Linked DNA regions of Homo sapiens: all the other regions are linked to region 3. The links are contacts of gene promoters, found by promoter capture Hi-C in human tissues and cell types (Jung and others, 2019). All regions are on one chromosome and are shown on one strand. The core of a region is centred on a gene start or on the middle of the fragment in contact, and the rest is flanking DNA. Distances in the headings are between cores, read along the strand shown. Region 1 overlaps APP (amyloid beta precursor protein). Region 2 has its middle 140 kb from the start of GABPA. Region 3 holds the start of APP (amyloid beta precursor protein). Region 4 overlaps CYYR1 (cysteine and tyrosine rich 1). Region 5 overlaps CYYR1-AS1 (CYYR1 antisense RNA 1).

Region 1 (4,841 bases), core at 2,230-4,729, 260 kb after region 3:
CTGTGAAGTACAAGTGTAAGATTTCTCACTGTGATCTTTTGCTCCTCTGCCTTTTTACTGCCAAGGGCTAAGATGGGCACAGGGCCCTTTCCAGCTGCCCCTGCCTGAGAAATGCTTATTTGATGACCAAAAGCAATAACCATTCCATAGGACTAACGGTGATTAAGTCAGCTTACAAATCCACAAGGGTGGAAGAGACTGCTAAAGATATTGGAACAGACATGCTTAATAATGCCTAATTTCTACAGCTACTTTTGTGATAATACGAGAGGCTGAAATAGATAGGGGCTGAACATGGGAAGGCTGGTGTTATGAAGCCCAGGACTTGGATTTCAGCACTGGTGCTTACTGGCCATTGGGTCTTGAAGAGATTGGTTCCTTTCTCCCAGCCTCAGTCTCCTTGTCCCATCAGATTAATAATGCCTGCCTTGGGAGAGGAGAGTCATACAGGAGAGGGCATTTGAGCTGGGCTCTAAAGAGTTCAAATAACGTAGATGAGCAGAGATGGGCTTCCAAGATAGCAGGAATAGAAAACAAAAGTGTCAGAATGGGTATGCATGGTCTTTTGTGGGAATACCCCAAGCTATTTAGCCTGAGAGAGAGGTGTGGTGTAGACAGCTGGAGCTGTGAGTTCCATGGCTAGAAATACGGGGTGGGCCCAGACCACAGAGGGCCTTCAGCATCTGGCAAAGGAGTTGGAATTAATTCGGTAGAAAATGAAGACCCACTGAAACAAAGAGGGAGCCATTCTTGTGTGTCAGGAACTAAGATTTCAGGAACCAAACGTAAAATAAAAACCAGCAGGGAGACCATTGTCTCAGTCGGTTTGTGCTGTTATCATGATACCAGAGACTGGGTAATTTATAAACAAACAATAGAAATACTACAATTCTGGAGGCTGAGAAGCCCAGGATCAAGCCGGGTGCAGTGGCTCACGCCTGTAATCCCAGCACTTTGGGAAGCCGAGGCGGGCGGATCACGAAGTCAGGAGATGGAGACCATCCTGGCTAACACGGTGAAACCCCGTCTCTACTAAAACTACAAAAAATTAGCCGGGCGTGGTGGCGGGCGCCTGTAGTCCCAGCTACTCGGGAGGCTGAGGCAGGAGAATGGCGTCAACCCGGGAGGCGGAGCTTGCAGTGAGCCGAGATTGCGCCACTGCACTCCAGCCTGGGCGACAGAGCAAGACTCCGTCTCAAAAAAAAAAAAAAAAAAAAAAGGCGCCTTGTGGCTGCATCCTCCAGAGGCAGCAAAAACTGTTCTCACATGGCAGATGCACATAAAGGGGCCTGTGCTGGTTTCCTCTAGCCCTTTTAGAAGGCAGTAGTCCATTCGGGGGCACGGGGTGGAACTGTCATGACTTGATTTCCAGAAGACCCCATCTCTCACTACTACCACAGTGGAGATTTAAGTTTCAACACATGACTTTGGGGGACATTCAGACCATAGCAAGCAGTGAGGAGACTATCGTAATTATCCAGGCGAAAAGTAATCATATTCCTAGGGGCGGTGAGGGTGGTGTGGAAAAGCAAGCAGGAAATGGCTGAGAGAATTCAGAAATAGAATGCAAAAGGATTTGTCGGTAGTGTGAGTACTGGACACGAAGAAATACAGGGAGTCCTGGATGGCTCTGAAGGATTCAAGCCTGTGACTGGGAGGGAGAATGGTTCTGCCATGATTAGAAAACAGGAAAGGTGGAAGGGAAAGCCAGGGACCTTGAGTACAGTTGTGTACCTACCAAGTGCATGGATCAGGAGGGAGCCCTAAGTTGGTATCTCCAGCAAACTGTTGGAAATATACAAATTTGAGTGGGAGGGAGAAGTCAAAGCTGGGGAAGTACATTTCAGATTCACCCAAAGGTAGGAGATCTTTAGAGTTTCAAGAGTCGATGGGATTTCCAAAGGGGAGAATTGTAGAAAGAGATGGAAAGAGATACAAGAAGAAAATGACAGGGATGAAGAGAGGAGAAAAAAAGAGTAAAAAGAGTTATTCAGAGATGTCACAGGGAAGAAGATAAGTACTGTGTATGCGAAACAGTGAGAACATTTCCAAATAAAGGACATGGTAAGTGATAGTAGATACCACAGACCCAAGAACAGCGTAGCCCCTGGGGAGTTCAAGAGCTTTCTCGCTGGCAAAGGTTATTTCCTGTCAAGATGAATGTGTATGCACCAATAATTATTAGTATTCCAGAATATCCTCTCTTTAGCATAGTAAGTGCTTAACAGTCACAAGCAAAAGATTTATATAAAAGAAATGCTCATTTAATTTATTTAATCAGACATTGGCTAAGTTATTAGCCGCTACCTATGGCTTTGTAAAACATGAAAAAGTTGGAGGAAATCTAATGAGGGTCTTTTATCTGTAAGGGAAAGGTCATCATGGGCATCAAGTATTGAATTTTAGAAACGGTGCCACAGTGAATAGGGATATATTATAACTCAGATTAGACTTCAAAAGGACTAATTTGCTTGGGACTTCCATCATTTAAAATCACTTGCAATAAAACTGACTACATGAAAAGATATTAATCACAAGCTTTAATGCTATTCCATCAAATTATTTTAATGGGTATATTTGAACAGAATTTTAATTTTTCAGATACATTTTTTGTCAATAGAAAAGAGAATTTGAAAGATGATTGTAAAATGTTACAAATCAAATTTAAATCCTGATCTTATTTTCATTTTCTCTAGCAATAAAACTAACCAGTGATGTGTCTGAAATATATACTACAGCAAACTCTTGACACAGCTATGATTGGAAAATGAGACATTTTGGTTAATCAAATATTATTGTTAATAGTGCAGTGCTGTCTGTCGGTCTCTAATTTGTAAAAATCAGAGAAAAACATGGTGAATCTTTGGTGACATAAGAGAAGACTCACAAATCTTCATATCCTGGGGTCAGTTTTTAAAGCAGTAATTACACATGATACAAGATTATATTCTAAGCTCTCTTTTTCCAGTAAGAAAAGATAAGTCAATGATGTTCCATAAAGCTGATTCTTGTTTAATCAATTTTTAAAGTGGGGGGGTAGGCGGCACTGACAGCATTCTTTGGAAAGGGAAGCAACAGAGGAGAAAGGCAGGATATTTGGTGTCTGCTCACATTGGGAAATACGGGGAGCCAGGGGTGGTTAAGTCCAGAGAAGGCTGGATGTCTGTCTGCAGGGCTACATCTGGAAGGGCAAGGGAACAGTTTCCTTGTTGCCTCAGAGCATAGGTCATGCAGCACAAGAGGAGCATTTAGGAAATGCAGATTTTTTTTCAAGGCAAGACAGTGAAAACTATTCAAGAAGGTAGCAAACTACTGGCCCTTTAATGCTTTTCTTATCCTTGCAAGTGTGCAAGGCAAGACAGGAGATTGTCTGTTGTCTTTCAGCTTGAATGAGATTGTGCCTCACTTACTGCCGCCACACCAAAGCCTGGCGTTTATTCCTGTGCGATCATTGTATACTAGGGACGTCTAACTGTGTCAGGAGGAAATGGCAGCTGAGCCCCTGTGGCCTTTCACCTCTAGCAGTGCCACGCTGCAGCACATTGGCCGGCTGCCATGCTCCTGCCTGCAGTCCTGCCAGCAGCTCTTGTGAGCTGCGACTTTGCATAAGTAGCTTGAATGCCATGTGCCTCAGTTTTCACATCTGTAAAAGGGAGATGATAATGGTACCTATGTCATGGCTCTAAACGCGATCATGCACGTGAAAGCAGTTGAAGTCTTGCCTGGCAGAAGTAAATGGTGGCTGCTGCTGCTGCTGCTGTTGTGATTGTTGTTACTCACCAAAGAGATGGTTTTGTTTGGTTTAGATGAGCTGCTTCAGAAAGAGCAAAACTATTCAGATGACGTCTTGGCCAACATGATTAGTGAACCAAGGATCAGTTACGGAAACGATGCTCTCATGCCATCTTTGACCGAAACGAAAACCACCGTGGAGCTCCTTCCCGTGAATGGAGAGTTCAGCCTGGACGATCTCCAGCCGTGGCATTCTTTTGGGGCTGACTCTGTGCCAGCCAACACAGAAAACGAAGGTAAGAGTCCCCTGAGCCAGCAAGGGCGTTCTGGGAGGTATATATACACATACATAACGTGTGTGCAAGAGAGAGAGTTATCTTTTGTATGTTCTTGAGTGGTGAATTTTTTTTGATGTAGTCATAAATATTTTCATTATAATTTTACTTTAAAAAGTAAATACTAGGAGTTACTATGTCATTAAAATAATATATCTGTGTAAATTATTCTTTATATTTTTTATGCTGCAAAGCATGTAAACTGCCAATTGTTGGAAAAGACAACAACTCCATTGTATAGGTGGCAAAACAAAATGGTAATGATTTACATAACATTTGCAGGTAAAGGGCCTCTTGTTTCGCACATGTCCAGGTTTGCATTCTAGGGAATATTATCCTTCGAGTGAACACTCCCGGACGAAGGGGAGCCACAGTGTATTATTGAAGAGGCAGTTCTTCACAAGGAAAATGTGTGGCAATAACATTCTTCTAATTTTTATTTTCCAGTTCCTCTTCTTAATATAAAATGGTACATTATATAACAAAAGTGGATACATAAAGAGCATGTACTGTATATCATATTATTATGTTTATGACTTTTTCAAATGAGGAAATGGAGGCACCAGGAGACTAAGTTCTTAAGTGATGACTTTTGGTAGGAATTTTTTAGAAATGTTTTTTAACTGTGAGGTATATTGTTCCCTCTGGAATGGAAGCACAAAATTCAACTTGTGTTTATGACGTAATGACCTAGAATGCCACCTTCCAAAAAAGCAGATAGATAGTGAAATAAGGAAAAATTACAGTTTACCAACAGAGAGGAGTTTTGAGGGC
Region 2 (4,514 bases), core at 353-2,852, 300 kb after region 3:
CTGAGACAGGAAAATGGCGTGAACCCGGGAGGCGGAGCTTGCAGTGAGCCGAGATCGCGCCACTGTACTCCAGCCTAGGCGACAGAGCAAGACTCCCTCTCAAAAACAAAAAAAAGATGGTCCTAATTTCAACACCTTGTATGTTAGGTCTCTGGATAAGCATTACCACCTTTAACAGCGGTTTATACAGTACAAATTGTATTTTGCCACAGATCTGCAATTTGAGTAGGGCTCAGTGAGGAACGCTCCTGTCTCCACACAGCACTCACAGAGGCAGCTGAACTGAAGGATGAGGAATGTGTTTCCAAGATGGCGCCCTCATGTGGCTGGTGAGTTGGTGTTGGCTGTCAGCTTGGGAGTTCGGCTGGGGTCCTCAGTTCCTCTCCACAAGCAATGTGCACCTCCATGTGGCCCTGGCTTTCTCAGAGCATGGTGGCTGGGTTTCAAGGATGAACATCCCAAAGAGAGAGGCAGAAACTGTATTGCCTTTTATGCCTCACCCTCAAAAGTTCCATAACATTACTTCTGTCATACCCAGTTGGTTCCAAGGCAACCACAAATGCCTGCCTAGGTCAAGGAAAGGGGACATAGATTCCATCTCTTGATGGGAAGAATGTCAAAGAACTTGTTTTAAAACTACCACATTTGGATAAATATACACATTCTATTAGGGATAAGTATGGGTAATGGCCATTTCCTGTCTTGGTCAGCTCAGCATAATTAACTAGTAATGAAAGACAAGGATGTTAATTCCCTTGGTAGGGCAATTTCTTTTTATAATTTCCATTCTGAACTCCAGGTTCCCAGTTGCCTGCTGAATATTTAGCAGACATCTCACGCTTAATGTGTCCAACATCTGACTCCAGATGTCTTGCTCCTCCTTTAGCCTTTCACTTCTCAGTAAATGATAACTCCATTCCTCCATTCCTGCACATACAGGTGCACACTGCACATGGAGAGGAACTGAGGCCCCCAGCCAAACTCCCAAGCTGACAGCCAACACCAACTCACCAGCCACATGAGGGCGCCATCTTGGAAACATACCCCCATCCTTCGGCTCAGCTGCCTCTGTTGAGTGCTGTGTGGAGACAGGAGCATTCCTCACTGAGCCCTACCCAAATTGCAGATTTGTGGCAAAATACAATTTTTACTTATAAACCACTGTTAAAGGTGGTAATGCTTATCCAGAGACTTAACATACAAGGTGTTGAAATTAGGACCATCTTTTTTTTTTTTTTTTTTTTTTTTTTTTGAGAAGGAGTCTCGCTCTGTCGCCCAGGCTGGAGTGCAGTGGCGCGATCTCGGCTCACTGCAAGCTCCGCCTCCCGGGTTCACGCCATTTTCCTGCCTCAGCCTCCCGAGTAGCTGGGACTACAGGCACCTGCCACCACCACGCCTCTGTGGATGCCGTGTGGAGCAGACAGGAGCATTCACCACTGAGCCCTACCCAAAAATCGCAACGCACTGGTTATCTGTTCACCTTATTCCCTTGTCTTCTTAGGTCTTTGATCAAATGTCACCATTTTGATGATGCTTTTCCTGACCATGGTTGCCAAAACTTAACTCTCTCCCCTGCCCTAACAGCATACGAAGAAGCATTTCATATATCCTTCTCTTCATCACTTTTCTCCTGGGCACCATCTGACTCATATGTTTTACTCTTTTATTTGCTTATTGCCTTCCTCTCACAAGAACGTAAACTTCGCAAAGACAAGATTTTTTTTTGTCTGTCTTCTTCACGGATGAATCCTTAGTGTTTAGTCTAGTGCCTTGTGCATGATGATGCTCAAGGAGTAGTTGTTGAATAAATGAGTGAATTGAAATTGGCACACTTTGGCAAGTAGCACAGAGAAAGGATCAAAAAGGTAGGAAAATGGGAGGAAGGAGAAGGACTTACTAAAATATTAGACACTAGAAAGTGAAACTGCTTTTGCAAAAATTATAACTGAGGAAACTATGACAGTGAAAGAGATCAAACCTAACTGACTCCATCTTGCTTCTAACCTTCAAGCTGTTCTTGTTCATTCCTTGGCATAGGCTGAACTAACCTTGGGAATAAATTTAGTTTATAGTTTAACTCTGAAACAAAATTGATAATAACCCTTTCCCAAGACTAACATATTAACTACAAGATTAGAAACTACAGTTTAGGGGCCATGCGACCTCCAGCTCCAAGAGTCTGAACCTCCCCAAATTGCTCCTGGGACTAACATCACTACTGTAAAACCTAAGATCAGTGCTTGAGATATTTTGCAGACCCTGCACTCGACGCACCAGCTGACACCACCCAGACCGGTAATCTGGCTCAACCAATTCTGCAATCCCACCCAGGAACAGAAGACAGCAAGAACTCACTTTGACCTCCTATGATTTCATCTTTAACCCAACCAATCAGCACTCCCCACTTCGAGTCCCTACACACCAAATTATCCTTCGAAACACCAGTCCCTGAATGCTCAGGGAGACTGATGTGAGTAACAATAAAACTCTTGTCTCCCACAAAGCTGGCACTGCGTGAACTATTCTTTCTCCTTTGTAATTCCCCTGTCTTGATAAATTGGCTCTGTTTAGGCAAGCAAAGTGAACCCATTGGGCGTTTACAAAATAACCAACATAGCAATATATTTTTTCTTTCTCAAGATCCATTCATAAATGGATTTGAATATTCTTAATGGTAGATTGGCTGGACCAAAGTGAAATGTCTATGTTTATGTCAGTTTCCTATGAGAGTTTCCTCTCCATGGACCTGGGGGAAATGGGCTGGAGGACCTGGCAGAGAAAAACAGGCTTCTGATAAATTGCCTCCACTGTTCCCATTCATCCTTCAGAACACCAGAGGGTTTTATCTATGAGACAGCTCCCCTTTCACGTTTAGCAATAGAGCCCTAACAATAAAAAAAGGAAAGCAATCATTTGATGAAAATTATACCTATTACTGAAGAATTTTATTTGTCTTCTTAGGTCTTTGATCAAAATTGTTCTTAGAAATTATTATAAAAGCTTTGGTGAATTACACAAAACCCTGGAATACAGATACTTAATAGAGGAAGAAAAATGGCAAACTCAGAGAAATAGAAACAACTCAGGAGAATTCAACCAAAGGCACATATAGCCTAGAATCTTATTAAAGATTCAAGAATTCCAGAAAGGGCCAGACGCGGTGGTTCACACCTGTAATCCCAGCTCTTTGGGAGACTGAGGCGGGTGGATCACGAGGTCAGGAGATCGAGACCATCCTGGCTAACATGGTGAAACCCCGTCTCTACTAAAAATACCAAAAAAAACAAAAATTAGCCGGGCGTGATGGCGGCACCAGCTACTCGGGAGGCTGAGGCAGGAGAATGGTGTGAACCCAGGAGGCGGAGCTTGCAGCGAGCCAAGAACGCACCACTACACTCCAGCGTGGGCGACTGAGTGAGACTCCATCTCAAAAAAAAAAAAAAAAAAAAAAAATTCCAGAAAGGTCGGGCACGGTGGCTCATGCCTGTAACCTCAGTACTTTGGGAGGCTGAGGTGGGCAGATCACTTGAACCCAGGAGTTCAAGACCAGCCTGGGCAACATGGTGAAACCCTGTCTCTACTAAAAATACAAAAAATTAGCCCAGCATGGTGGTGCCCACCTGTAGTCCCAGCTACTCAGGAGGCTGAGGTGGGAGGATCACTTGAACCTGGCAAGTCAAGGTTGCAGTGAGCCAAGGTTGCACCTCTGTACTCCAGCCTGGGCAAGGAGACTCTGTCTCAAAAAAAAAAAAGTTTGGGAAAGCAAATCCCTCTTCAAGAAAAAAGACCTAAGAGAGACGAGTTCCTGTAGACCAGGAATCTCTGGAACCAGGGCCACACAGAGGGAAGCGAGCAGCAGGCCAGCAGGTGAAGCTTCATCTGTAGTTACAGTCGCTCCCCATCACTCACATTACCGCCTGAGCGTGGCCTCCTGTCAGATCAGCCGCAGCATTAGATTTTCATAGGAGCACAAACCCTATTGTGAACTGCGTATGGGAGGGATCTAATTCGTTCTCTCTTTATAAGACTCTAATGCCTTCTGATCTCTCACTGTCTCCCATCACCCCCAGATGGGACCATCTAGTTGCAGGAAAACAAGCTCAGGGCTCCCACTGATTCTACATTTTGGTGAGTTGTATAATTATTTCATTATATATTACAATATAATAATAATAGAAATAATGTGTCCAATAAATGTAATGTGCTCGAATCTTCCCGAAACCATCCTCCCCTCTCCACTCCTGGTCTGTGGAAAAATGGTCTTCCACAAAACCGGTCCCTCGTGTGCCAAAATGGTTGGGGACCACTGCTGTAGACTCCACCTTGGCAATTTCAATGTATTTTTATAATCACATGTCTGGTCCCTCCTGGCTCATTTGAAACATGGGCTACTCAAAAGAGCCCTGAATGAATGAATGGAAGGCAGATTCTTCTTCAAACAGAAAGATAATTCAAAAAACATCTGACTCCCAGGAGAGGTTCTCAGCACTGTACCCCCAGAGCTTTCCCCAACA
Region 3 (5,107 bases), core at 2,066-4,565:
CTAAAACAGTCAAATGCAACATGAGGCTCCAGGCAGAGTAGTGGGCAACATCTCCCATGTTGCAGCAGTCAGAGCACACTTCGAGTACTGTAAAAAGACACAGACAAGCCAGAACACATTTAGAGAATGGCCAAGGTGTGGAAGGAACCAGAAACCATGCCATTATGCAACTGTTGAAGGAAGTGCCTGTTTTACCTTGTGAAGAGAAGACTCTAGAGGAAGAAGTAGCATGAAAACCGCTGGCAAATTTGTAAAGATCTGAAGTGTGGAAAAGAATTATTCTGCTTGGTCACTGGGGATACAAGGATATCTGAGTGGGAGTTTAAAGGCGGGGGATGTGAGCTTTAAATGGGATAAGAACATTCTAGTAACCAGAAATGCCCAAAGATAGAATGCACAGTCTGGAGAGCCAGTGAATATCTCACAAATGGAGACACTTGAAACTAGGATGGGGATGCTGTTGTAGGAATTCCAGCAGACAAGTGGTTGTTGGTTCCTTCCCCAACTTTGTAGGGTTATAACTAGGGATGTTCCTGCGTTTTCTGCTTGGAGGATCTGCAAGACACCTCAGGGCAGGAAATGGCATTAAATGCAGAACAGAGCTAGTGGCTGAAAAGCAAAAAGCCATCAGGATCTCTGAGTAGTGAAGGAACCAGAGAACATGCAGGCAATGTCCATCATTCTGACGCAATCAGCAGCATAATCATCTTCCCCCAGGAACATCTTGACCAGGGAATGTGTCAGTGTGGTGAATTTCAACAGTGGAAAGAGAAACTGCTAAATCTAAGAACTTTAATTTTTATAGATTATGATCTCATCTCTACAATTTTGAATTTCATGCTCAATAAAAGTTCCTTACTCTCTTTTTTTTTTTTTGAGACGGAGTCTCGCTCTGTCGCCCAGGCTGGAGTGCAGTGGCGCGATCTCGGCTCACTTCAAGCTCAGCCTCCCGGGTTCACGCCATTCTCCTGCCTCAGCCTCCCCAGTAGCTGGGACTACAGGCGCCCGCCACGACGCCCGGCTAATTTTTTGTATTTTTAGTAGAGACGGGGTTTCACCGTGTTAGCCAGGATGGTGTTGATCTCCTGACCTCGTGATCCGCCCGCCTCAGCCTCCCAAAGAAAAGTCCCTCACTCTTAAAGTTGCCTCCTCCTTCCCAGGGCTGGCTTCATGGGCATGCAACCCTGGAGAGTCTCACAGGCCCTGCGGTGGGAGGAGCCCCATGCTTGGTTTAACGCTCTGCCATTGCCATCTTAAAATTCTTAATTTAATTTTTTTTCTTTTTTTTGAGGTGGAGTCTCGCTCTGTCGCCCAGGCTGGAGTGCAATGGCACAATCTTGGCTCACTGCAACCTCCGCCTCCCAGGTTCAAGCGATTCTCCTGCCTCAGCCTCTGGAGTAGCTGGGATTACAGGCAGGAGTAACCACGCTCGGCTAATTTTTGCATTTTTAGTAGAGATGGGGGTTTCACCATGTTGGCCAGGCTGGTCTAGAACTCCTGACCTCAGGTGATCTGCCCACCTGGGCCTCCTAAAGTGCTGGGATTACAGGCATGAGCCACCAGGCCCGGCCTTAAAATTCTTAATAATGTAACAAAGGGTCTCACGTTTGCATTTTGCAGTGGACTCTGCAAGATTTGTAGCTTTGGACCACGTTTCTCTTTGCATTCAGATACCTTCTTTTTTGCCTTATTTGCTCATGCAGACCCGGAACAAATACGGAATTGCGGTGGGTAAATGTGGTGCAGAAAGTGAACAACTGGGTTTGTCCTGTCACTTTAGGCTTTTCCCTGCTGTCCCAGCTTCATGTCACTTACTTGCTATTAGATTTGGGAGTTCATTAGCTTCATTTTCCTGATGTATAAATAGGAATAATAGTAACAGCCTCTTTGGCTTTTGTAGGAAGTAAATGACATGAAGCGTATAAACAAATACTGCATGACAATAAATATTTGTCCTTATTTGTTGAGGACATCCAAAGGACATTCAGGGGCAAAAGTAATCCAAGAGTCAAGACTGAATGCCTAGTGCGGGAAAAGACACACAAGACAACATTTAGGGGAGCTGGTACAGAAATGACTTCCCAGGAAGGAAGTCTGTACCCCGCTGGCTGAGCCATCCTTCCCGGGCCTAGGCACCCTTGTCAGCGCAATGAGCAAGGGAGAGAAGGCAGGCTGCAGTGCAGCCCTCAGAAGGGCCAGAGCACTCCCTGGCTTCAGTCCTTCGCTCCAAGCCCTGTGTGGAGTGGGCTGTGGCTTGGTAACTAAATGCTACTTCAGGTCAAGAGCAGGGGATATATCTGGGCAGTTCTAGAGCATTCTAAACTATCTGGACACTAACTGGACAGTGGACGGTTTGTGTTTAATCCAGGAGAAAGTGGCATGGCAGAAGGTTCATTTCTATAATTCAGGACAGACACAATGAAGAACAAGGGCAGCGTTTGAGGTCAGAAGTCCTCATTTACGGGGGTCGAATACGAATGATCTCTCCTAATTTTTCCTTCTTCCCCAACTCAGATGGATGTTACATCCCTGCTTAACAACAAAAAAAGACCCCCCGCCCCGCAAAATCCACACTGACCACCCCCTTTAACAAAACAAAACCAAAAACAAACAAAAATATAAGAAAGAAACAAAACCCAAGCCCAGAACCCTGCTTTCAAGAAGAAGTAAATGGGTTGGCCGCTTCTTTGCCAGGTCCTGCGCCTTGCTCCTTTGGTTCGTTCTAAAGATAGAAATTCCAGGTTGCTCGTGCCTGCTTTTGACGTTGGGGGTTAAAAAATGAGGTTTTGCTGTCTCAACAAGCAAAGAAAATCCTATTTCCTTTAAGCTTCACTCGTTCTCATTCTCTTCCAGAAACGCCTGCCCCACCTCTCCAAACCGAGAGAAAAAACGAAATGCGGATAAAAACGCACCCTAGCAGCAGTCCTTTATACGACACCCCCGGGAGGCCTGCGGGGTCGGATGATTCAAGCTCACGGGGACGAGCAGGAGCGCTCTCGACTTTTCTAGAGCCTCAGCGTCCTAGGACTCACCTTTCCCTGATCCTGCACCGTCCCTCTCCTGGCCCCAGACTCTCCCTCCCACTGTTCACGAAGCCCAGGTGGGCCGTCGGCCGGGGAGCGGAGGGGGCGCGTGGGGTGCAGGCGGCGCCAAGGGCGCGTGCACCTGTGGGCGCGGGGCGCGAGGGCCCCTCCCGGCGCGAGCGGGCGCAGTTCCCCGGCGGCGCCGCTAGGGGTCTCTCTCGGGTGCCGAGCGGGGTGGGCCGGATCAGCTGACTCGCCTGGCTCTGAGCCCCGCCGCCGCGCTCGGGCTCCGTCAGTTTCCTCGGCAGCGGTAGGCGAGAGCACGCGGAGGAGCGTGCGCGGGGGCCCCGGGAGACGGCGGCGGTGGCGGCGCGGGCAGAGCAAGGACGCGGCGGATCCCACTCGCACAGCAGCGCACTCGGTGCCCCGCGCAGGGTCGCGATGCTGCCCGGTTTGGCACTGCTCCTGCTGGCCGCCTGGACGGCTCGGGCGCTGGAGGTGGGTGCCGCGCCTCGGAAGGCGGGGGGAGGCTGCACGGTGGGGACGCGATACCCCCCAAGACCTTAACCCAAGTCTTTAATGCAGAGAAGCCGGGGGTCCGTCAATGGGACCCCTCTCCTCTCCGCCCCCGCTTGCGGACGTCCAGCGCATCCCCGCTTTCGGCCCAGCCCTGCCCCAGGGAGTCGCGCTCCGGCCCGCTGAGAGGGAGCGGGCGAGGCGCTGGTCTCCCTGGTTCCGCGCCAGCCCGGGGCGAGAAGGGTAGGGGGCGACCCTGAGCCCAGACCCCGACTTAGTCCCTGCCTTGGAAGCGGGGGTCGGGGGAGGCGAGAGACATTCAGACAGGGGGGAAGGGGGAAGGAGCACGTGGGGAAAACCGAAAACGCAGCGTCCCTAAAGCCAGTCCTTCGCTCTTGAATCGTTGCCCTTTCCTTTCTCTTGGGCCCTGGGGAGGAGGAGGAGGAGTCGGGACAGCCCAGGAAGCTAGGAGCCCCTCGCTTTTCCCTGCGTTCTCCGCCTCGTTTCACCTTCCTCTCTCACCCCCATCCCCCTTCCTTGCTCCAACCTCTTTTCGCGGCTGCTGGCGGCGGCAGCCTGGGTGCGACCCTAGCCCGAGCCGGCGTCGGGGTCGCGCACCGCCTTCCACAGGCAAACTTTGTGCATGTCCGCGTCTCCCTTTTGTGTAACTTGCGAGAAATGGGAGGGGTCGGAGACCCATAGCCACCCCGCGCCTTCCCCAAGTCTGGACGTCCCGGGAGTTCGCTCGCACCCTAAGCTCTGTCTGAGAGGCAGAAGGTCCGCGGGAACAAAAGCCGCGACACCCCGCCCTCGCCGTGGGCCGAGCCGCGTTAGTCTCAGTGCGCCACCGAGGCTCCCGCCCGGCTCCCTTCCCGGGGCTGCGCGTCCGCCTGGGAGGGGGCAGAGACGCTGCCGGGGCTTCTGGCGGAGCCTCGGGGCCCCTCTGCTTCCCACCCTCGGATCACCTCCGAGGCTTAATTCTGTGCTGGGCTGTAAAGTCCTTGGCGGGGAGGAAATAAGGCGGAGAGTGGGATGTGCGTCTGGAAAGGGCAGTGGCGGATGGTGGGGAGGCACGGGCTCTGTCCTGTGCATCCAAGGAGGCGTTTGTCTGATTAAGGCGCGGCCTCTTCCCTGGCAGCTCTGGGGACTCTGGTTTAGTTCCCCTGGGGGCACAGGATGCTGGGGAGGGTCCGAAGGGTCTTTTTTTTAGGGTGCAGATAAAAGGATCGAATTGAGTGAAGATTAAGACGGAGAAGATGGCGCCTCTGCAGTGCAGCAAAGAAAAGCTGTGTGGAGGCTGCAGCCTAGTGAAATCCACCCACCACTAGGTGTATAACAAGTCTTCCCCATTCATCCAACTCTCGAACATTCAGCTAACGCCTGTGCACAATGACTGTTTTTCTTTACATCTGAAGATGCTTAGAAGTTGTTTGCATGACAGTTGGGCCAGAGGAGGCTGTATTTCACTTCGGACTTCGGTTGGGTTCCTGTTTGGCATCTTAACATTTGCAACCTTCCTTACCCGTTTTTCCCCTCTTTTCCCCCAGCCTCCTAGTAATTTTCCAAAA
Region 4 (5,141 bases), core at 1,337-3,836, 320 kb before region 3:
GTATATAAAACCTTACAGAAAACTGAAAAATCGTGTTTGATTTTTTTAATATGACCATTTTTGAATCATATGTATTCGACTCTCATTAAATCTATATTGGCACAAAATCATGTAAGAATTTGGCACTTGTTCAGATAATTCAGTCAGTGCAAATAAATGCTAACCAGGCAGTTCTTAAAGGGTACTTTTTGTTCATCAATCAAAGCATTTACCATTGAACTCTAGTGATAAAGTGTTATTCTGTAGATCACCCTACAATCTACAACATATTCAAGAGCACTTTTTATTCTCATTTTGTATACTACTTTGACATCGAAGTAATGTATAGATTTCTTAAAGATCTCTCACTGAGCCATAAAGTTTAATTCTACGTAAGATATGAGGAACAATCCCAATTAATGAAATTGAATGCAGTCTCTTGCTTTCCTGGTTCTGATATGCTTTTTTAGAACTTTTCTACAGGATCCCAGAGTACCTGTATGTTCCTTAAAACTGCCATTTCCACATTAAATATTTGCTTTTGTTTAAACTGTATAGCAATTTTGGCAAAGGAATTGTATTAGGTAAGATTAGGTTGGGTAGCATATCACACACACATACATTCACACTCAAACTAGAATAACAGAGACTTTAATAATTTTTTTTAAACTAGTTTGTTTCTCGTGCAAAGGAAATGGGAGTTGATACAGCATCTCCATGTTGTTATTAAGGATACAAACTCCATCAAACTCATACCTCTTCCATCCCTAGGATATGGCTCTTGTCTTCATGGTCCACCTTGGAGACTAGAGCTCAGCCATTACACTCCTATTTCAGAAAGCTGAAAGGAAGGTAAGACAGAAAATGGGAGAAAAATCCCATTCCAGCCATCTTTTAAGGAGGTTTCCTGAGAATTGACACAAAATATTTTATTACAACTTATTTTCCAAAACTCAACATGTAAAAAACAAAACAAAACAAAACACTAGCTTTAAGGCTACCTGGAAGATGTAGTACTCGCCAGGCATGGTGGCTCATGCCTGTAATCCCAGCACTTTGGGAGGCTGAGGCAGGCAGATTGCTTTACCTCAGGAGTTGGAGACCAGCCTGGCAACATAGCGAAATCCTGTCTCTACAAAAATTACAAAATTAGCTGGTAATGGTGACGTGTGCCCATAGTGCCAGCTACTAGGGAGGCTGAGGTGGGAGAATCACTTGAGCCCAGAGGTTGAGACTTCAGTGAGCCACTGCACTCCAGCCTGGGTGACGCAGTTAGACCTTGTCTGGAAGGAAGGAAGGAAGGAAGGAAGGAAGGAAGGAAGGAAGGAAGTAGGGGAAGATGTAGTCTTTATTTTAGTCAACCCTCAGACTTCTTTTATCAAGGAAAATGTAGAAAATGAATATTGGGTTACACAATTGTCTCTGTCATGGGGCTTGAGTCAATAAATCACGTAAATTTATTCATTCAAAGAGATATTAGTTTCCAGTTTTATTATCATGAGGCTAACAGAAAGAAGTTATCTATAAAGCCCCAAGAAAGAGGATATATTGAGTGAAGTTATTAAGGGGAGTCACCAGAATGAAAGAAAAAAAAAAAGCAAAATAAAAAAACATTATTAGCATATTTGGATTTTACAGATTTTTTTTTTTTTTTGCAAGTAATGTAGACTTACTGGAAAAATTACATGGATTGGTCTTCCTACCCTCCTAAGCATTTTACACTTGGAGTAGTAACAATATTTAATAACAATTTAACTATTCGATATTATGGTTTTCTTATCTGATACACGTATACATAGATGTACATGTAACCAGACTCATAGAGATAAAAATAGAAATAGAGATAGTTCTGAGATCCTACGATTAATATAAGTAAATACTGTTAATATTGAAAATGATACTCCATTGAGTTTGTTTTTCTATTATTTTCTGTATTTATTTAAGCAACAGAGAAGAAAATGCATTATTTTTAAGTTAAGCAAGTCAAAGTGTTACTAAAATTGCCAATGATTTATAATAAAACATTGTATTCAAGGGTATTACAGTATTTTAATGAATTGGCCAAAAGAATGAATTATTGAGGAAGTAGGATGATCTGATATAGAATTTTGCCAAGATTTATTCTCATGTATGTAGTCGACTTTCAGCGCTGTAGTAGGAATAGGATTTTTATCATTGCTTAATTCATCTCATGTGTATCATCACAAATAAATAAGTCGACTAAATATTACCTTCTTTAACAAAAGATAAAAATGCTTTAGCTTCACTTATAATTTTTTTATTTTAATAAGAAATAAACCTACTTTAAGTTTATTCTTTTGAAGCTATGGTTACTTTTTCCAGAGAACTCTCTCTTCTGATACTTTTACCTTTGACTTATTTCAAAGGTAAAGGTATTTTATTTCAAACTCTTATTTCCATATGGAAGTTTATCCTAACAAAAATATTCTAGAATTTTCCCCACTTTTTGTATAGGTGTAAAATATCCGTGTGGTATCAAATATAGATATCAAATATCCGCATGGCCTTTTTAATTTTTCTACTTTATTGGGACTGCTGTTACTAAATTATTACATAGAATATTCATAAGCCCTTTGATTTATAGTTTTATAAAATGCATTTGTAAATTGGGTCGTATCCGAGAAGAAGATAAATATTACTCTGGCGTACTTTTCATATCTGCTATTTTCCTTAAATATTATTTAATATTAATAGTAAAACCACATCAAGATAACTAGTAAGCTGCTGTATAGCAGTGCTAAGCCTAAAAGTGTTACTGCAACATGGCAACATTATCAGAATCTTTTTTTACTCATGAAAAGCGATTTATGGAATAAAATATATTATCTCTGAGCTTTGTTATAAAAGACAGTTTCATATTATTTCAGCCACCATAGATACATTTAATATCTTGATTATAAAATCTCATTTTGCAAAAAAAGAAAAAAAAATTAGCTAAATTAGAACCTAGAAACAGTCCTGCACAGGCCAACTGATTTTTGACAAAGGTGCAAAAGCAATGCGATGGGGGGATGAGGAATGCTTTTAATAAATGGTACTGAAGTAGCTGGCTATCCACAGGCAAAATAATCTGGTAATAATGAACCTCAACCTAAATCTAATACCTCGTACAGAAATTAAACAAAAATAGATCATAGGTTTAAATATCAAATGTAAAATAATCAGTCTTTTAGAAAGAAGCATAGGAGAAAGTCTTCAGGACCTAGGGCTTCATGAAAAGTTCCCACGTATGACCCCAAAGCACAATCCATAAAAGAAAAAAAATGATAGATTGGACTTTATTTAAAAACTTTTGTTCTGTGAACGACCCTGTTGGGAGAATGAAAAGATGTGCTACAGACCAGTAAAAATATTCGCAAACTACATATTTTGTAAAGGACTCAAATAATTCTCAAAAACTCAACAGTAAAATAACCAAGCAATCCAATTAGAATATGGGCAAAAGACTCAGGTGGACATTTCACTGAAGAAGATGAATGGCAAATAAGCTTTCGAAAACATGTTCAACCTTGCTAGCCATTACGGGAATGCAAATTAAGGCCATGATGAAATACCACTACACTTAATGCTTTATCCGTTAAAACAGCTAAAAAACAGATTATAAAACTAGATACTGGCAAGGACGCAGAGAGGATCTCTCATACCTTGCTGGTAGGAATGTAAATAACTTGGAAGTTTCTTTAAAACTCAAACATACATTTATCGTACATCCCAGTAATTGCACTTCTGGGCATTTATTGCAGAGAAATGAATACTTATGTCCACACAAAAATCTGTACATGATTGTTTATAGCAACTTTATTTGTCAAACCAAAATGCCCTACAATAAATAATGGTTAAACAAAGTGTGTTATAGCCATATCATGGACTGCTTGCTCATCTAGGAATGAACTACTGATACATGCAGAAACTGGAATGGATTCCAAAGGCATTACGCTGAGGGAAAAAAGACTATCTCCAAAACTCACATGCTGTATGATTCCATTTGTATAATCTTCTTGAAATGACTAAATTACAGAAACGGAGAACAGATTGCTGATACCCGGGGTTATTGATGGCAGAGAGAAGGCATGTTGGATATGACCATAAAGCAAAGTAATAGCGAAAGGGAAATATTTTGTGATGATGGAATAGTTTTGTATCTTGCTTGCTGTAGTGGTTATATGACTCTGTGCATGTGTTCAGATGACATGGAACTATAAATACACCTTATAGTAATGTCAATTTCCTGCTTTTCATGTTGTGCCATTGTTACTTAAGATGTAACCATCTGGGGAAACTGGGTGAAGGGTACGTGAGCTCTCTCTGTACTCTTTTTACACTTCCCGTGAATTTATAATTATTTTAAAATAAAAGTTTAAAAGGAGAGAGGAAAATGTGCAAACCTTGCAAGGCGTTGTTTTAAAAAAAATACATTCCCTGAAATTTTTTCAAGGTTTTAATGATGCCAGATTTTTCAAATTAATAGCTTCTCACTTTCCAACAGTTGACTGAGCCAATTATTTATATGCAGGAAAGTTACTATTTGTTTATTGTTTCTTTTTATTAATTACAAAGTAAATAATGCTGTAAATTTTATACTTGCCATGTCTTAAATAACTAATTTACGATTGCTAATGGGTATCAAAGGATCAAGGGCACCAACTTCATGATTTAATCAAAAAAACTAATTTAATACATTAGTTGCAACCTCATTATTGACCTCAAGAGCAGGCACTTTTGCTGGAGCTGCCAACAAGGAAACAAAATGTGACTAATTTTCTACTTTCCTCTATTTAAGAAAAGAATTAATGAATATAAATATGTCCCAATTCGATATCTTAACAGCTTCCATAACACATAGTTTGGAAACTCTATGCCTGAATAACTGGGCCATTGATTATTTCTGGAACATAAATTAAGTCCTCCAGTTTAATCTTATTTGGACCTGAAACTTACAATAAAGGAAGTTTCCAGATTACTTTTAATTTTCTCACTTCGAATTATCTCCTTTCATAGATCTTTTTTTCTTGAAAAGATTTATTTATTAAACTACTGGACTCTGCTATTATTTAATTACTAATAGCAACACATCCAAATATGTCTCACATTCTGCCTTCTTAATAACTAAGTAAAAATGCCTATAGAAGTATTTTAAAGGA
Region 5 (4,910 bases), core at 2,380-4,879, 280 kb before region 3:
TAATTCATCAAATTCAACTGTAGGAAGTGCTGTGAAGACACATTAGTACAAGATGCAACCTTAGAGGCCATTAAGCAAGACCCTGTGATCTCAAAGGTGAGAATACTGAAACTGTGGGAAGTGAAAAGTCTTAGCTGAATGTACACAGAGAATACAGCAGGCCCATGGGTCACACTAGTCAACATAGATGAAGTAGATAGGATCTGCCATAGACATCAAGCTGACGAAACCATTAAAAGGCAAAATTCATTTGCACATTTGCTTTGGCTAAAGTCAGGCTCATAGATAATGTCATCTAAAGATTTTTCCTTAAGAACATGTATCTTCAAAGTCTGAGAATCTGAGAGGCTTTCATTTCCTGTTTTAATGTGACCAATAATGATTGTTTTCATTTCGTTTTGTTTATTAAAACTATTAGTTATACATCTATCCTTTACTCACTTGTCTATTGGTTAGTTGGTTGGATGTAGCAAGGCTCAACTATTTCACAGTCATAAAAGCCCTTTATAAAGACATAGATCATCAATTCAGTAAACAAGGAGATGAGTTGTGCTATCTAGGCCTAACTTTGTTAATATTCCTTCATTCATTCAACAAATACTGACTGAGCACGTTACTATGTGTCAGCCGTGGTCCTAGAAGCTGGAGATTCTTCAGGGAACAAGAAAACTCCCTGGAGTTTCGTTCTAATGGAGAAGAAGAAAACATAAACAAATAAATAGTGCATCAATTGTGAAAAAGCTCTGGGAGAAAAAAGCAAGCTCAAAGGAAAGAGAGTAACAGGATTGGGAAACAAAAAGGCTGGGTTTTTGGTAAGATGATCAAGGAACTCTTGATATAGTACTATTTAAGCAGAGAACTGAAAGAAGTAAGGGAATGAGACTTGCCAGTATCTAGGGCAAAGGTATACCAGGAAGAGGAAACAGCAAAAGCTAATCCTCTGAGGTAGGGGAATACTCAGCCTATTTGAGGAAGAGCAAGGAGGCCAATGTGGCTGAAGCATCATGAGTGAAAGGGAGAGAAGATGAAGATAAGGTCACGTAAGTATCAGAACACAGGTCATGTAAAGCCGTGTAAGCCACGGTAAGGATTTTGGATTTTATTCTGAATGAATTGGGAAGTCAGTGGAAGATACTGAGGCAAAGAGTGATATATACGTATACATATATAGTACATACTTATAGATGCTCATCAACTTATGATACTATCTACATCCAGATAAACCCACTGTAAGTTGAAAATATTGTTAAGTTGAAATGCAGAGCTTAAAACCTAGATGACAGGTTGATGGGTGCAGCAGACCACCATGGCACACGTATACCTGTGTAACAAACCTGCATGTGCATCCCAGAACTTAAAGTAAAATAAAAGTTAAAAACAAGAAAATGCATTTAATACACCTAACCTACCAAATCTCATAGCTTAGCCTAGCCAACCTTAAACATATTATATATATATTATATTATATATGTGTGTGTACATATATATATGCAGAGAGTTACTATAATGTGTGTTTGTTTCAAATGACAAAATTGTGTAAGATAAATTCCTTTGCTGCAATATATAATACTTGTATTAATATATTGCTCTTAAGATTCCAAAATGCTCTGATTTCTATAACTGCATTTTTATGCTCCTGTTACGGATGCTTGATGGTGGCACATGAGAGAGAGAGGTGTGAAACAAAGATATAGGATTAAGGCAAATTTGCAAATACACAGCCTGATACCATTTCACATTAGGTCATGGTTATCCGTCCCATCACAATATACATTAACATCCCAGCAGAGTGCTTCCTCTAGCACATCTCTAATAGATATGTGTAGATGATAAACACAAAAGAAAATCTTGGAAATCGGGTCACTGCCATGGATCTTGAAGGAGTTAGAGGTGTAGCTGGGTTGTTGAGTAGCAGCTGAGGATGGCTGCCAGAGAGGTGGTACTGGAATAAAATTGGGAGTAATTCAAAATAGGGTATTATGGTTCCCTGGAGATATTTTTTTACCTCAAAATGTCTCCTTGTGCTTGGAGAATGCTGGCAAAACTCTAACCAGCCCTTCTTAGCCTATTCACCAAAATTACACCCAGAAATAAAACTTCCCAGCACAAGATTAAGTCTCAAAAATTTATTTTCATTTTAAAAAGTCCTTGGGTCTTCCCTTTGGAATTTTCTACTAGCCTGTTTGCCATTTCCTGGACTGGAGAATTGGGTTATTTGTATGGTACTGTCTACGCTTCTGGATGCTCCCATATGATACTACACAAAGATTCACTGCTGATTTCATTCATTTTATAGAGAGTGGATAGGGACAAGAAGGGTTGCGTCAGATAACATAAAAGTGAGGGCTGAGAAGGCCGTGGTTTTTACGACTGTTCTTATGGAATATTTTGTTAGTTTTCTTCCAGAACTGTCCCATAGCACATGAGGCCTTCCACCTCCTAACGCTATTGCAATTTCTGGGATATTTAATATCTTTTGAAAGTAACTTTGAGCAAAGCTAAAGGAAAAATGGTAAATATTATTTTTCTTTGTGAAGCAGGCTCACTGTACACAGCTTACCATTTTCTCTGAGTCCAGTGAGATGGAACACACTCATACAGAACAAGTCACATGAAGCAGATTTATTACTTACAGACAGGCAGCAAAGGAGAGCAAAAGCCTAGGATTCATTATAAGCCAGTTCCCCGAGTCTCAGGAAAGCTGCTTGGGACAAATTGAGTCTTGACCGTGTCGTGTGACTCTCCACTTGCACGGCAGCTGAGGGACCCTGAACAGCAGGCTGCCCTGAGTTTATACCCGAGGGTCAGGTGAATTACTGGGCTTAAGCTTTGGAAGACATGCTGCTTCTAGTGGAGGACTGGAATAGAACCAAGGCCATTTCAGCCAGTCCCTCCCTATCTCAGGATTTTACAGTCCCAGCACATTTTACAGTTATTATTAAGAACAACTTTAATGCAAGTCTGTTTGAGTGTCAAAAAAAAATTTTAATAGAAAAAAAGGAACTACCAGTGAGAAGGTGGGGAGAACTGGGTCAGTCCAAGGCCACCTGGACAACTGTCCTGCATGTGGTTCTTCCCCTTTGAAATGAATTTAAGGAGTCTGTATGCGTCTAAAGTTAGAAATGTTTAGTCTATCACCATGAATATTCAATTATCTCTACATTTCCCATGACCAGTAATTAGCTCTGTGTCTGATACTTATTTAAGCATTCATAATAGGAGATGGATGTGGATATGGTATCAAAATATAGAGAATCCATTTTATATTTAAGAATGTAAAATCATTGCTCATTCCCAAATTAGTCAATTACAAAATTAAACTTACAAATCAATCAAATGTCCATGTCAGTTACTAGATTTTAATCTCTTACCCTCATATAACAATCAATGAGAGCCTCAAATCTAAAAATAGCAATACTTTCATTATAAGATTAGTGTTTTCCTTGAGTCAATAGTTCATGACATTTTTTAGCTTTCTCTAAAAGCTACTCCTGTAAGACGAGTCAAAGTAAAACAAGATAAACATGGACATTTTTCAGAAAACTGCTATCTTTATAATCAAGCTTCTTTTTCTGAAATAACAATGTTGCTTTCTAACTCTGAGCCAAAATAGAATGAGTTAGGGGTTCAAGGATTATATTCTAAGGAAGTAATGCTATTTTGATCCTGCCTAAAATTTCCCATTTTATATTGCGGAGTGACATAAAAAAATACACAAGATCTTCAATACATACAGAATGAAAATTAATTGAACCCAATATTGAAATTACTAAACCATCCTATTTCCTAAGATACAGCCAATGAAAAACAAAACATTCTAATTTCCCTAAAAAAGGAGAAGGGAAGGAAAATGGAGCTTATAAAGCTCTAACATGCTTGAGAAGGATGTGGACTACTGCTTCCAAGTATACATTTGGAGTAGCTAAACAAACTGATATGGTTAATAATTTTTCTCTTAAGCTCTCTCCATGTGATTCAGTCTCAACTACCGATCCCTAAACAATTTTTATTTGTCTAAAAACAGTGGAATTTTTTTTAAAAGATATAGCTCAAACAAAATTTTGAGGTTTTGGTTTATCTGTGACAGCTGCCTTTTTTCTGACTTAATTTCCCCCAACCCTGTGGTGCATAACCGCTTTCAATACCAATGATAATGAAAGATGGTCTTGGTTAGTTTTCCTCTTCTACGACATAAATTTTTCCAGGGATTTGTCTAGAAAGGATATGAGATGTTAGTGTGTGTGTGTGTGTGTGTGTGTGTGTGTGTGCGTGCAGTGGCCACATGTGGACTTTGAAGTTAGTCAGAATTGGATTTGAATCTCAGCTCAACCACTTACAAGACCTTGTTGAAGTTACATAATTTCTTTGAGCCCAATTTCCTCACTTGCAAATTGTAAGCCACTTAGTATGATCTGGTGCTTTGATTGTGCTTTCAAGAGCTATCTGTGATGGCTGACTCCACGTGTCAACTCGGCAAGACTATGGTGCCCAGCTGTTTGGTCAAACACTAGCCTTGATGTTGCTGTGAAGGTACTTGTGGATGTGATTAACATTTACAATCAGTTGACTTTAAATAAAGATTATGTTCCATAGTGTTGGTGGGCCTCATCCAATCAGTTGAAGGTCTAAAGAAGAAAGAATGAGGATTCCTGAGGAAGAAGCAATTCTGCTTCAAGACTCCAACATAGAAACTCTGCCTGAGTTTTCAGACTACTGGCCTGCCTTACAGAATAGGGACTTGCCAACCCACAAGTTCACATAAGCTAATTCTTTAAAAATGAGTCTCTCTCTCTATACACACAAACACACACATACACACACACACACACACACACACACACACACATATATACCCTATTGGATATATTTTCTGAAGAACTCTGACTAATACACTCATACTCTTGTTATGA

The links. Contacts are between HindIII fragments. The study calls those that stand out against the background at their distance.
Region 1: a fragment that was not itself captured here is called in contact with the fragment with the promoter of APP in region 3 in 4 of the 25 tissues and cell types used here (dorsolateral prefrontal cortex, lymphoblastoid cells, mesenchymal stem cells and 1 more).
Region 2: a contact is called between a fragment that was not itself captured here and the fragment with the promoter of APP in region 3, in 7 of the 25 tissues and cell types used here (aorta, dorsolateral prefrontal cortex, heart left ventricle and 4 more).
Region 4: a fragment that was not itself captured here is called in contact with the fragment with the promoter of APP in region 3 in 1 of the 25 tissues and cell types used here (mesenchymal stem cells).
Region 5: a fragment that was not itself captured here is called in contact with the fragment with the promoter of APP in region 3 in 3 of the 25 tissues and cell types used here (mesenchymal stem cells, mesendoderm cells and thymus).

Annotation. Positions count from the first base shown.
Region 1 is chr21:25,910,928-25,915,768 of GRCh38, reverse strand. It overlaps APP (amyloid beta precursor protein), which reads left to right. Exons shown (of 18, transcript NM_000484.4): 14 at 3,807-4,028. Among named protein-coding and RNA genes, the nearest start is that of GABPA, 180 kb to the right of the region's middle. The HindIII fragment of the contact is 8,779 bases long and covers 1-4,841 here.
Region 2 is chr21:25,868,277-25,872,790 of GRCh38, reverse strand. No RefSeq gene overlaps it. Among named protein-coding and RNA genes, the nearest start is that of GABPA, 140 kb to the right of the region's middle. The HindIII fragment of the contact is 8,437 bases long and covers 1-4,514 here.
Region 3 is chr21:26,168,978-26,174,084 of GRCh38, reverse strand. It overlaps APP (amyloid beta precursor protein), which reads left to right and starts at 3,315. Exons shown (of 18, transcript NM_000484.4): 1 at 3,315-3,521. The coding sequence starts at 3,465. APP-DT (APP divergent transcript) reads right to left here and starts at 3,218. Exons shown (of 4, transcript NR_186396.1): 1 at 3,033-3,218. RefSeq lists silencers at 2,963-3,792, 4,293-4,562 and enhancers at 3,580-4,104, 4,603-4,812. The HindIII fragment of the contact is 4,835 bases long and covers 1,016-5,107 here.
Region 4 is chr21:26,484,409-26,489,549 of GRCh38, reverse strand. The region is part of intron 2 of CYYR1 (cysteine and tyrosine rich 1); the gene reads left to right. All of the region lies in intron 1 of CYYR1-AS1 (CYYR1 antisense RNA 1), which reads right to left. Among named protein-coding and RNA genes, the nearest start is that of CYYR1-AS1, 81 kb to the right of the region's middle. The HindIII fragment of the contact is 7,460 bases long and covers 1-5,141 here.
Region 5 is chr21:26,451,230-26,456,139 of GRCh38, reverse strand. The region is part of intron 1 of CYYR1-AS1 (CYYR1 antisense RNA 1); the gene reads right to left. Among named protein-coding and RNA genes, the nearest start is that of CYYR1-AS1, 48 kb to the right of the region's middle. The HindIII fragment of the contact is 4,645 bases long and covers 1,307-4,910 here.